Regions from separate parts of the Homo sapiens genome. Here region 1 is linked to region 2. Evidence: promoter capture Hi-C in 16 types of primary human blood cells and fetal thymus (Javierre and others, 2016). All regions are on one chromosome and are shown on one strand. Each heading gives the region's core, a stretch centred on a gene start or on the middle of the fragment in contact. The rest is flanking DNA. Distances are from core to core; before and after follow the strand shown. Region 1 overlaps MMP20-AS1 (MMP20 antisense RNA 1). Region 2 holds the start of MMP7 (matrix metallopeptidase 7).

Region 1 (6,064 bases), core at 1,352-3,851, 130 kb before region 2:
GCTCTGGGAATATAAGTATATGGGTCATGACCAGAAAACAAACAAACAAAAATTGAGCTAAAAATATGAAATTTAGCTATAAAGTGTGAACTCCATAATCATCAACTAGAGAGCTGATCTATGTCTTGGACAAGTGGGGAAACATGGTGAATTTCCTGTAGCAATTGGAGAAGGGGTATTTTGCCCTTGAAAAGCATCATTCAATTTATGATCTGATCTTGTACAGAAGAAGAGAAAGTGCTATATAAATAAATACTAGTTAACACAAACAACCTCTCTTGAAGTAGAACCACCTCCAAACTAGAAATCTAAGATTCCTCCCCACTTTTTTATAAAAGCCTGCCTTCCATAAAGGCCTTTAGAAAAACTTAGACCTGAAAAGGAGCTCAGAGCTCATCATTCCCTCTCTTCTCAGTACAGAAATCCTCTTTAGAACATTCCTATCAGGTTATCTCTTGAGCACTTCCCGTTCACCCAATGCTTCTCAAAAATTTCCTCCAAACTACTCGAAGAAAATAAATCTTATTGGCAGAGTAGTTACAGGTATAGTTCAAATCAGATTTGAAAAGATAAATATCTCTGAGCATACCTTGCTTTTCCTTAAAATTTATCTGATTTTTGTTATTTCCTCACATGTCTGTGTTTTGTGGAGATATTCATCACCATTTTAAAAAGCATGCCTCAGGCCAGGCACTGTGGCTCACACCTGTCATCCCAGCGCTTTGGGAGGCCAAGGCAGGAGATTCGATTGAGCCCAGGAGTTGGGGACCAGGCAGGGCAACATATCAAGACCTTGTTTCTGCTAAAGATAATTTTTTTTCCAAAAACTTAGCCAGGTGTGGTAGCACATTCCCGTACTCCCAGCTACTAGGGAGGCTGAGGTGGGAGGATAGATTTAGCCTGGGAGATTGAGGCTGCAGTGAGGTTGGAACACCATTGCACTCCAGCCTGAGAGACAGAAAAAAACCTTGTCAAAAAAGAAAGAAAAAAAAATAATGTGGCCAGGCGTGGTGGCTCACGACTGTAATCCCAGCACTTTGGGAGGCTGAGGCGGGCGGATCATGAGGTCAGGAGATCGAAACCATACTGGCTAACACGGTGACACCCCGTCTCTACTAAAAATACAAAAAATTAGCCAGGCGTGCTGGCAGGCGCCTGTAGTCCCAGCTACTCAGGAGGCTGAGGCAGGAGAATGGTGTGAACCTGGGAGGCGGAGCTTGCAGTGAGCTGAGATCGCGCCACTGCACTCCAGCCTGGGGGACAGAGCAAGACTCCGTCTCAAAAAAAAAAAAATAAACAAATAATAAAGTATGGCCTTAGAGAGATTACTAAAGTACATTTTTATGTAACTTTTTTCTAATTACAAAACACAAAAAAAGTACAGAGAGAAAAGAACAATACCTATGCATAATCCCTGCACTCCTACCGCAAGATAACTGCTTCTAATATTTATGTGCCTGTCTTATAAATTTTTATTTTAAAGAAAAAAACAGCTATAAGATAGTGTGATAGGTTCTACTTGCAGAAAAAAATATATGAAAGAAAAAAAGAATGGAGAATTACAATCTTAACAGAAGAAGTGCCTGAAATCTACTTTGACTAGAAAACCTAGAGGTGAGAGAGACAGAAAATTAAACATAATAACCATGTTTTCATTTTAAAACACACCTTTCAAGTAAGGATCCAAATGCTTCAGATATACTAGGCAAAGATGGGGTCCAAGAAATTTAAGAAAGGTTGTCTGCACATGTATTCACCTTGATTCTTTGTTAATGTAAGGTTTGGTATCTATATACCCTTTAGTTATACTCACTCAGCAGCTGTCAGCAGAATCATTACACAGGTTAAGAAACAGCAGTGTTGGGAATTTATTTTCCAATGACATATATATACAGGTCTTTCCAAGAGGTAGAAAGCTTAGGTCTCATAAGACAAATAATTGTGCTTATAAGGCATTAGATTTCGTGGTTGGCCAGCTGAATAGGTCCATTTCAAGGTCCTAAAAGAAGTAGATGTTGCACACACACACACACACAAACACACACACACGCACACACACACACGAAGATGGGTGAAACTCCTGCTGAACAACAATATTCCACCAGGCAACTGGCTAAAGGAGTGGAATTTACTTCAATGGTTGGAAACCTAAGGGCATCTACAGTGTTTGAAAGAAACTGAGAACTTGCTTTAGAAGTCCAAGTTTTAGTCCAAGTTCTGTCCTTTACCATCTGGTTGTCTTCGCAAGCCATTTCACTTCTCTGAGCCTGTTTTCCCATCAATAGAATGGGTATAACAACGTCCACCTTGAATGATTGGGGGGTTACATAATTTAGACGGCCTGGCATGTAATAAATACTGCATAAATGTAGCCCAGAGAATTGCTACACTGATAAAATAAAACAATACATGTGAAAGCACTTTGTAATCTGTATAGTTATCTGGGAGTGGGAGAAAGCCAAACCTCACCAGAATACTATTGTTTAGAACTAAGGATTACATTTAATAAGGGCCTCATACATCAAGGAAGGCAAACAGATTGAGACAACTCCATTTGATGAGGAGCTGCTGTCTCGAATGCCACATTGTAAAAAATATCCTGCAGCCATGGGTTCAGAAGGGACAAAGAAATACAGCATTAATGCCAGTTATTGTAGCATAATCGAAATGAGTTAGAGCTTGAGCCCAGCGGGAACTTACAGAAAGACGTTCTGCCTACACCCCGGCTCCCTGATCTGCAGCTGCACCACTGAATGTTGCAGAAAAAGGTTTCATGAACAGAAAATGGCAATCATAAGACTTGTAGGGTGTATACGCTCTTTTCAAGTATATCTAAGTGCATGATCTCAAGTTACTGGATATCAGCAAAAGAGAACAGAGAATATTTCCAGCCACAATCCAAGGACAATATGGAGTATCAGTTTCCACTAAATATGAGATTAATGATAGCCCTACTTGATAGGGTTTCTATGAGGAATAAATTAGATGAAATACATAAAATACCTAGAACAGATCTAGCATGGGGCAAGCGTTCAATAATATATAACTATTATTATAAGGATAAAGATGTATTATCTTTTGTTTCAATAATTCACAATATAATTTGGGATTAGGTTGCAAAATTGATGAGTAATGTGATACTCAAGTCAGGTAAAATTATTTATTAATAATCTCTAAATTATCAAGACCTGCAGACTTGGAAGCTCCAAAGCAAATAATACATGACTTTAATCACTCTTTGTCTTTCAATTGATACCTCCCTTTACCTAGGGCAAGGGAAGCTTCTGTTTTAATGGAAAGGAAAAGAGGGAGGACGGAAGGAATTGAAGCTGGAATAGGCTTGTACAATGGGACAAATAAATATAGTTTTCACTCTTTATGACCAATACATACAGTTGGCTTCATTTTACAGTTGGCTTCAAGTTAACAGTGCATGTGATGCAAATCAATTTACAATTTTCCTTAATAATTAAATCAAATAGTAATAAAATACTTAAAGCTGTCTTTTACTATGCCTCAGTCTGACAACGAGAGATAACTACTGCAAACATAATGAATTATGTCTTCTGGTATTCAACTTCATTTCTCTAAATAATGTGCTTGTGCATTTATTTCCTAATTAATGTATCTTATACATTATCTAGTGACTTCTGTTAATATTAGCTCTATTACATTCCCACCAACCCTCCACCTCCTTTCTTCCCTACACTTCCTCTTATATCACAGTGTTTATATTTTTATTATGTAAATATTGTTTATTTCCAAGTCAAATAGTTTATTATTATTACATTCCCATTCACATACAGTTTTCTGGTATTTCTTTTTCTTTTCTTTTTTTTTTTTTTTTTGAGATGGAGTTTCGCTCTTGTTGCCCAGGCTGGAGTGCAATGGCGTGATCTCAGCTCACCACAACCTCCGCCTCCCGGATTCAAGTGATTCTCCTGCCTCAGCCTCACAAGTAGCAGAATACCAGCTACTTACAGGCATAGTTAGTGATTGCTTTATTTATCATTGCTACTGATTACAAGCATAGTTAGTGATTGCTTTATTTATCACTGCTTGGTTTTCTGTGCCCATTCCAAGTTTTTTTCAAATGCTGCAGCTGTTTTGATGTGTACCTATCAATAATTATTTAACTCAAATGCTAGCCAACCATTTAATTTAGTTATATCATTTTTCTCTTTCAGGATGAAACTGTCCATCCAGCTCTAAGGAGAACTGGTAGCTTCCTTGCCCTGATGCTTAGCTGTTTATACTGAAACTTCCCCTCCACTTCTCTCCTGTATTGGATCCCCTGATTCCTTGAAGTAATGTCTATTTTTCATTTTACCCTATCAATTGCTAAAACATGTTCTGCAATAACTTCCTGAGAAAAGATACATGAAAAATTAGTTTTTGGACTTCTCATGTATCTTGATTGATTGATTGATTGATTGATTTACGGGGTATGGAAACCTAAGTTGAAGTCACATCCCCTTAGAATTTTGAAGGTATTTCTTTACTATCTTCTAGAATCCTATATTTTAGCCATTTGAATTGCTATCCTTTGATTGTGACCTGTTTTTTCCTCTATAACTTGATGTGGGTTTTTTTGCATTTGTTGATCTGGGTAATTGGTGGACGCTTTCAGTCTAGAAACTTTCAGCCTTCAGTAAAGAGAAATTTTCCTATATTATTTATTTGATAATTTCTTCCTTTACTTTTTCTCAGTTCTATCTTTCTGGATCACTTCCTTCATTGGATGTTTGTTCTCCTTGTTTGATCTCCAATTTTCTCATCCTTTTTCCTTTGATTTTTAACCTCTAGTTCTATTTTCTGGACAATATCTTTCACTTTATTATCTACATTTTAATAAAATTAACCGATTCATTTGTATTAGTCAGGGTACTTAGGTGCAATGATTAGAAGGAAACTCTGGCTCATAAAGCAGAAAGGGAATGTACATAAAACATTTTGAGTAGCTTATAGAATATTTGCAATATGAAAGAACAGACGTGGAGGCTACAACAGCCAAGAAACCAGAGCACCCTCAATACTTCTCAGAACTTAATCCATAAAAGCATTACTGTAGCCCTCAATGGGCATAGCTTGCACTGCAATGCCACCAACACTGGGTGCTGTGTGGTGTCACTAGAATTTCTTCCAGTCTACCACTGGAGGCTGGAAGTAGCTGAAATCACAACTTCCAGACTCACCAGAATGGATCTGTGTGATACCTGAGTCTTCCTGTCACTAAATGCTAATTCAAATTCTGGAGAAACTGACCATGCCCTAGTTACAAGCAAATGTTTGACATTTTTGGTTTTAATATTGGAAACTGGCTCTGCCTCAAAAGGTAGGGAATCCCCCAAATGTATGATAAGGATTCAGAGCCTGGGCAATCACAAAGGATAAAAATGTCCACTGAGGTCCACACTTAATCCATCCTACACCAATGTTCACCCTTCTTCTACACTTCTAAAAAAATGCTTCTACATAGCATAATGCAATGAAAAATACCTTGTCCAACTAAAAAACATGCTTATCCTTTGCCCTAATATTTAAAAAGCAGTAAACTCAAAGTCTCACTGTTATTTATTGTTTCCATTCCAAGACCAGGATCTCTGAGTAATGTTCATGCTTCTCCGGTTCTATACTGATAACCTTCTATTCAATATCACATAATCTTGGATTAATTTGTGAATTTAACCAGAATGAACAAACATAAGGTAGTGGGAGATGGGGGATAAAGGAAAGAAAAGAAGGCAGTTCAACTGTCTAGGATATTTATTATTTTCAATGGCAAAACTCGCAATTACTTTTGCACCAACCTACAATAGAAGAAAATATTGGGAGATGCGGCTGTCCTTATTTCTCCAAATCCCCATGAAACTTGTGGCAGGCTGAAAAATGATTCTTCAAAGATATGTCCACATCCTAATCCTTGGAACCTGTATATGTTACTTACTGTATTTGAATACAGAGTCTTTGTAGCTGCAATTGAATTAAGGATCTTGAGATGAAGAGATAATCCTGGATTACAAACATGGGCATAAAATCCAATCATAGGAGTCCACGTAAGAGA
Region 2 (6,237 bases), core at 1,360-3,859:
CTGCCTATCCCACGTCCAGCCCACACAACTACTGATATTTTTACCTATTTTTGCCTTTTCCAGAATGTTACATAGTTCGAATCATACACTAAGTAGCCCCGCAGATTGCTTCTTTCACTTAATAACATGCATTTAAGATTCTTCCATGTTTATTCATGGTTTCACAGCTCATTTCTTTTTAGCACTGAATAATATTTCATTGCCTGGATGTCCCGCAGTACATGTATTCATTCACCTACTGAACGACATCTTGGTTGTTTCCAAGTTTGGGCAATTATGGATAAAGCTACTATAAACATCTATATGTATGTTTTTGTGTAAACATTTATTTTTATCTCCTTTAGGTAAACACCAAGGAGCACCATTGCTGAATCATATTGTAAAAGTATGTTTCATTTTGAAAGAAACCATCAAACTGTCTTCCAAGGTGGCTGTACCATTTTTCATTTCCACTAAAACATCCTGCAATTGCCACTGTCAGCGTTCTGGATTTTGGCCTTTCTAATTGGTAAGTAGTGGTATCTCATTACTGTTTTGATTTGCATTTCCCCAATGACATATGATGTGAAGAATATTTTCATATGCTTATTCACTATCTGTATATCTTTTTTGGTAAGATGACTGTTAAGGTTTTTGGCCCATCTTTAAAATCAGATTGTTTGTGTTTTTATTGTTGAGTTTTAAAAGATACTTGTATATTTTGGATAACAGTCCTTTATTGGATATGTCTTTTTTTTTTTTTTTTTTTTTTTGAGAGAGAGAGAGAGTCTCCCTCTGTCACCCAGGCTGGAGTGCAGTGGAGTGATCTCAGCTCACTGCAACCTCTGCCTCTGAGGTTCAAGCAGTTCTCGTGCCTCAGCCTCCTGAGTAGCTAGGACTACAGGCACGCATCACCATGTTTGGCTAATTGTTGTATTTTTATTAGAAACAGGGTTTTGCCATGTTTCCCAGGCTTGTCTCAAACTCCTGACCTCAGGCAATCCACTGGCCTCAGCTTTCCAAAGTCCTAGGATTACAGGCGTGAGCCACCGCGCCTGGCCATGGATGTGTCTTTGCATTCATTTTCACCCAATTTGTGGCTTGTGTGCTCATTCACTTGAGGAAATGCCTTTTGATTTTAATTCAATGCAAATATTACCAAAAACGTGATATAATTCCATTTTTAGCTTATTCAAGTAAAGTTCATAAATATTCATTATTCTACAAATATTTATGGTGCACCTTATCACATGTCAAACTCTGACTAAGGATACCAATTACTCTAGTTAAACTGTGACCGTACAGAATCAAGACATCTCTGTAAAGAGAGCAAATTTAATTAACTGATCTGAAAATTTTACCTTTGCTGGCTCACAGTGCTCAATTACCATGTAATTGAAGTGATATGTGATTAATTAAATTTTTTAGCTCCAGCATATTTGGAGTGTTTCCCATGATGTATTAGAGTCAAAAGCCATGGTGTTCTCCCAAGTAATGTATAATATAATAAAAGAGACAGACCTATTACAAAATGAATAGGCAGTGCAGTGGGATAGAAAAAGCACTGAGCTACTATCTGTGTGAGCTGGGAGAAGTATAATAAGTTAAATTATCATCTTGGCCTCACTTTCATTTTTGGTAAGAATGGAGTCATTGGGCTAGAATCTGTAGGTAATGGATTCTTACTGCTATACGTAGAATAACCATTTTGTGTACTAAGGACCAATGCAGCCCTACCTGTAGCTGGGCAGCAGCCAGAGTCAGAGTGATTGGAAGAAAAAAATTGGATCTCCAAGTTGAAGGTCTAGCCTTGGAAGAATCTGTTACTATAAAATGAGAAGCAGAATAAGTAAGCCAGATGAAGAGTTAAACCCGTGCTTGTAGATTTTTGTTGGCTTGGTATTTTTTTGTGTTTAATTCAAGAAGAATTAGAGGCAGTGTTCCCCATTAAGAAAAGACATAAACTGATTAAAAGGAGACCCAAAGAAGGGAATTATCACTGCTCTGCTAAGGGACGTGGAAGGTGAGGGGACACAGCACAGTTGTATATAGAGTGGCCACTAATCCAGCCACACAGCAGCATTTCCATCTGCCTCCTGCCATCTTTCCCCTGTATGGAGAACCACAGGATTTTGGTGATGTTCTATTTCTTGACTTTGGTGACGGTTACAGTATTTGCTTAATTATTATTTCATTATTTACATGTTTTGTGCACTTTTCCAAACCTTTTAATTGTTAAGAATATATGGTACCATGTATTTAAGAATACATGGTACCATATAATAAGAATATATATTTAAGAATATATATTATTCTTTAAGAATATATGGTACCATAATGTCCTGAATGATACCTATGAGAGCAGTCATTTGACTTTGGCAAAAAAATGAGGTTTCTCATGGAGTCAATTTATGCAGCAGACAGAAAAAAAAATCCTTTGAAAGACAAATACATTGTGTGCTTCCTGCCAATAACGATGTAATACTTCCTCGTTTTAGTTAATGAAAAATAACACATACTTTCAAAGTTCTGTAGACTCTAAAAAGAAAGAAAACACTCAAATGAGTCACCTATTTCCACATTCGAGGCTGAGAAGCTATATAAATTTCTGCAGTCACTAGCAGAAAACACCAAATCAACCATAGGTCCAAGAACAATTGTCTCTGGACGGCAGCTATGCGACTCACCGTGCTGTGTGCTGTGTGCCTGCTGCCTGGCAGCCTGGCCCTGCCGCTGCCTCAGGAGGCGGGAGGCATGAGTGAGCTACAGTGGGAACAGGCTCAGGTATGTCACAGCCCACTTACTTAGGGTTCCATTCTTTTGCCATCTGCATTAAGAAATGTGTTTTTCAATTATTTCCCTTCCCATGTTAGCATTGCAGTGGAATTTTCTTTGGGGTGGTTCTTCGGATTATAAAAGCAATATATGTTTTCATCAAGTAGCCATTAAAAGCAGGTTTCAGAATCTGCTCAAATCGGGCTTGAGTTCCAACCCTCCACTCACTATGTAGATAGACTCAGGAAGGTCATCAAACTTCTCTAAGCTTCAGGTTTCCAATTTGGAAGTTGGAGATAAGAATGGTATCAACCAAATGAGGGTGTTGTGAAGCATTCAACACAATACCTGAAACATTGTTTAAATTAAGTTCTTATTTTTATTTATTATAACTTGAGATTCTTTTTCTATAGTATACAGAATATTGCCTCTTAAGATACAACCTGTAAATATACTGTTTGTGTATTTACAATACTGTTTGTAATGGAGATATCTGAAGTCAGAAAACATGGGTAGAAATTACAACTCTCCAACAAGTCAATGACAATAGACAAGGCATTAACATCTGACTTTGTTTTCTCATGTGTCCAGTAGAAAAAATAATATTATGTGTTTTATACCTCATGGGGTATTCTAGTAAGTAAATGAGGTGATAACAAAACCAACTAGCATGTATGTAACAATTGTAGATTATAAAGTACTTATATAGACATTGTGTCATTTAATCCTTAGTTCTATAAAAAGAGGAAACCAAAGTTAAACTGATTAGTGTACTTATTAGTGGTAGAGATAGAAATCAAGGACAAGTGCTTCTGGTTCAAAAATCATGTTCCTTGCAATATGCTTCTTAATAAGCAGTCTAATAAATATAAGCAGTCTACTAATTATTATTTGGTTAACTAATGGGATGATTACTTATAACTATTATTTGTAAATTTAGGCCTTAAGCATAAGAAAAGTCAATTTTTAATTCACATTAACTTAGACTTTTAAAAAGTTCCAGTTATAATAAGTTAGATTGAACCACATAAAGTTACTAGTATTTAACTTTTAAAATCTCCAAAACAGTAGTTTTATATGGTTCCACCTAATGAATTCTCCAGAAAGAGTACTCTGCGTTTAGTTTCTTTACTTAGAGTGAAGGTTGGCAGAAACTTAGTCTTCACTTGGAGGGATGTTAGCTAGGTTTAACAAAAAAACAGGAAAAGTCATCTCAACAAAGCAGAGAGATTTCTTCCAGAGGGTGTCTTGGTAAAGTCTGTAGCTCTAGAAGGGATTAAATGGGTTATTTGTTTTTAAATAAAGGATCAGTTATCAATTGTCATGGATGAACAATAAGTATTTGTTGTATTTAATGAGACAATTGTTGGTAACAGGAAAAAAAGACACAATATTAATAAGATTTCTTACATAAATTGCATATTCCTGGGCGGTCCTAAGACAGGTAACCATTACCATCTACTCCAAATAAACTGCAAATTAGTGAGCCAATGTTTAAATCATTTTAACAACAATATTATCAGGCATCATATAACCCTACACATGTTTCTAATGTATAGAAGTCAGAACACTTGAGTTCAAATACTGGTTCCTTCAGTTACTCACAAGGTGATCTTGTGCAATTTATTTCACTTCTCTGAGCTGTGTTTCTTCATGTATAAAATAGGGATAACAATGCCATACTTGTTTCATAGAGTGGTTATGAGGTTTACATAAAATAAATATGTAAGTGCCTGGCTCTAGTAAGTGCTTAAAAATGTTCCTGTGAGGTTGCTATTGTTGTTAGTTCATTCACTTTTGTTGTTGTTGTATTTGTGCTGCTGGATTCCTATCCTCATATTCAGATACTGAGAAACTTTAGAGAAATTCCCAGGAATCCAACCTTGCATGGAATAAACCTGGGAGTCCTACTGTATACTGCAATCTCCCAAAGTGGGTTTGACTAGAGATTTAACAGCAGAAAGAAGGGCTGGGAATGGAATGAGCAGAAAGAGGGAAAAGAGGACCTAGGAGTCAGGAAAGTCAAGTCCAGTTCTGCTACTAATTTAAGGTGTGAACCTGGGCACATAAATCATTTAGTTGCTATAAGCTTTGGTTCCTTCACCGGATTATTAAATTGAACTATTTAATAATTTCCTAATATCTTTTCCCAGAGCTAAAATTTTAAGACCCTTTAACTTTTAGCTGGAACCGCATCTCAGCTGGACTTTAGATAGGGCTGGTTGACCTCAGATCTCCCCCACAGGGTCTATGATAACACAGAGAATGTCCCAGTCGTACCCCTGAGGACAGACTGGTACATGCTTCCTGATTGCTCTTACACACTTCTAGGCTTTATAAAGTGTACAGTGTAATTCTCCCCAAAACATTTAAATGGATTTTTTAAAAATTGAGGGATTCTTTTCTTTTGCTCACGAAATGGCACGCCAGTGCTTCATTAGCAATATTAAATTTTCTCCTCACTAATGCACACTTATTTTTCTCTGTGACTATGTAATTATTCTGTCTTCAAATCATTATTTGAATTCACAGGAACCAAAGGCAAGAGATATATAGGCTTCTAAGATAAAAGAATATAATAAACAAGAACTATAGATTAATTACTCTCTTTTCAATAGGACTATCTCAAGAGATTTTATCTCTATGACTCAGAAACAAAAAATGCCAACAGTTTAGAAGCCAAACTCAAGGAGATGCAAAAATTCTTTGGCCTACCTATAACTGGAATGTTAAACTCCCGCGTCATAGAAATAATGCAGAAGCCCAGATGTGGAGTGCCAGATGTTGCAGAATACTCACTATTTCCAAATAGCCCAAAATGGACTTCCAAAGTGGTCACCTACAGGTTAGTTTTGCTCTGGCTCATTTTGGCAAAAACAATAAAGCCTGTTTCCTAGGGGTCAAACATTGTTTTCTTGTTTGCTACTAGGATCGTATCATATACTCGAGACTTACCGCATATTACAGTGGATCGATTAGTGTCAAAGGCTTTAAACATGTGGGGCAAAGAGATCCCCCTGCATTTCAGGAAAGTTGTATGGGGAACTGCTGACATCATGATTGGCTTTGCGCGAGGAGGTAAGAAAGATTCCTGTAGGCTAATCCTGTGTCCTGTTTTGTTTGTTCATGGTTTATATCAGTGCTCTTTTCTTATGAAGATTAAAATCCTTTAATGAGATATGATTGGTAGATAGATAGTTAATAGATAGATTTAGCAATATTATTATAATTTTTATAATCTGGTAATATAGAGCCACTTTTTATAGCAGCAGTTGGCAAACTATGATGCATGAGCCAAATCCAGCCCACCTTCTGTTTTTGTAAATAAAGTTTTACTGGAACACAGTCAGGCTCCTTCATTTCCCTATTACCTATGACTGTTTGGGCTCAGGCTGCAACTGTGACAGAGATCACAAAGCTTAAACACTTGTTATCTGACCCTTTACAGAAAAAGTTTGCCAACCCCTGTTTTGTAACGTGAAT

What was found. The method cuts DNA at HindIII sites, captures the fragments that hold promoters and counts their contacts. A CHiCAGO score of 5 or more calls a contact.
Region 1: a contact is called between a fragment that was not itself captured here and the fragment with the promoter of MMP7 in region 2, in 6 of 17 cell types (M1 macrophages, M2 macrophages, M0 macrophages and 3 more). The highest score is 13.1, in M1 macrophages.

The regions. Positions count from the first base shown.
Region 1 is chr11:102,655,789-102,661,852 of GRCh38, reverse strand. All of the region lies in intron 1 of MMP20-AS1 (MMP20 antisense RNA 1), which reads right to left. Among named protein-coding and RNA genes, the nearest start is that of MMP20-AS1, 18 kb to the right of the region's middle. The HindIII fragment of the contact is 1,365 bases long and covers 1,919-3,283 here.
Region 2 is chr11:102,527,119-102,533,355 of GRCh38, reverse strand. MMP7 (matrix metallopeptidase 7) reads left to right here and starts at 2,609. Exons shown (of 6, transcript NM_002423.5): 1 at 2,609-2,763; 2 at 5,373-5,599; 3 at 5,684-5,832. The coding sequence starts at 2,656. The HindIII fragment of the contact is 6,591 bases long and covers 1-3,024 here.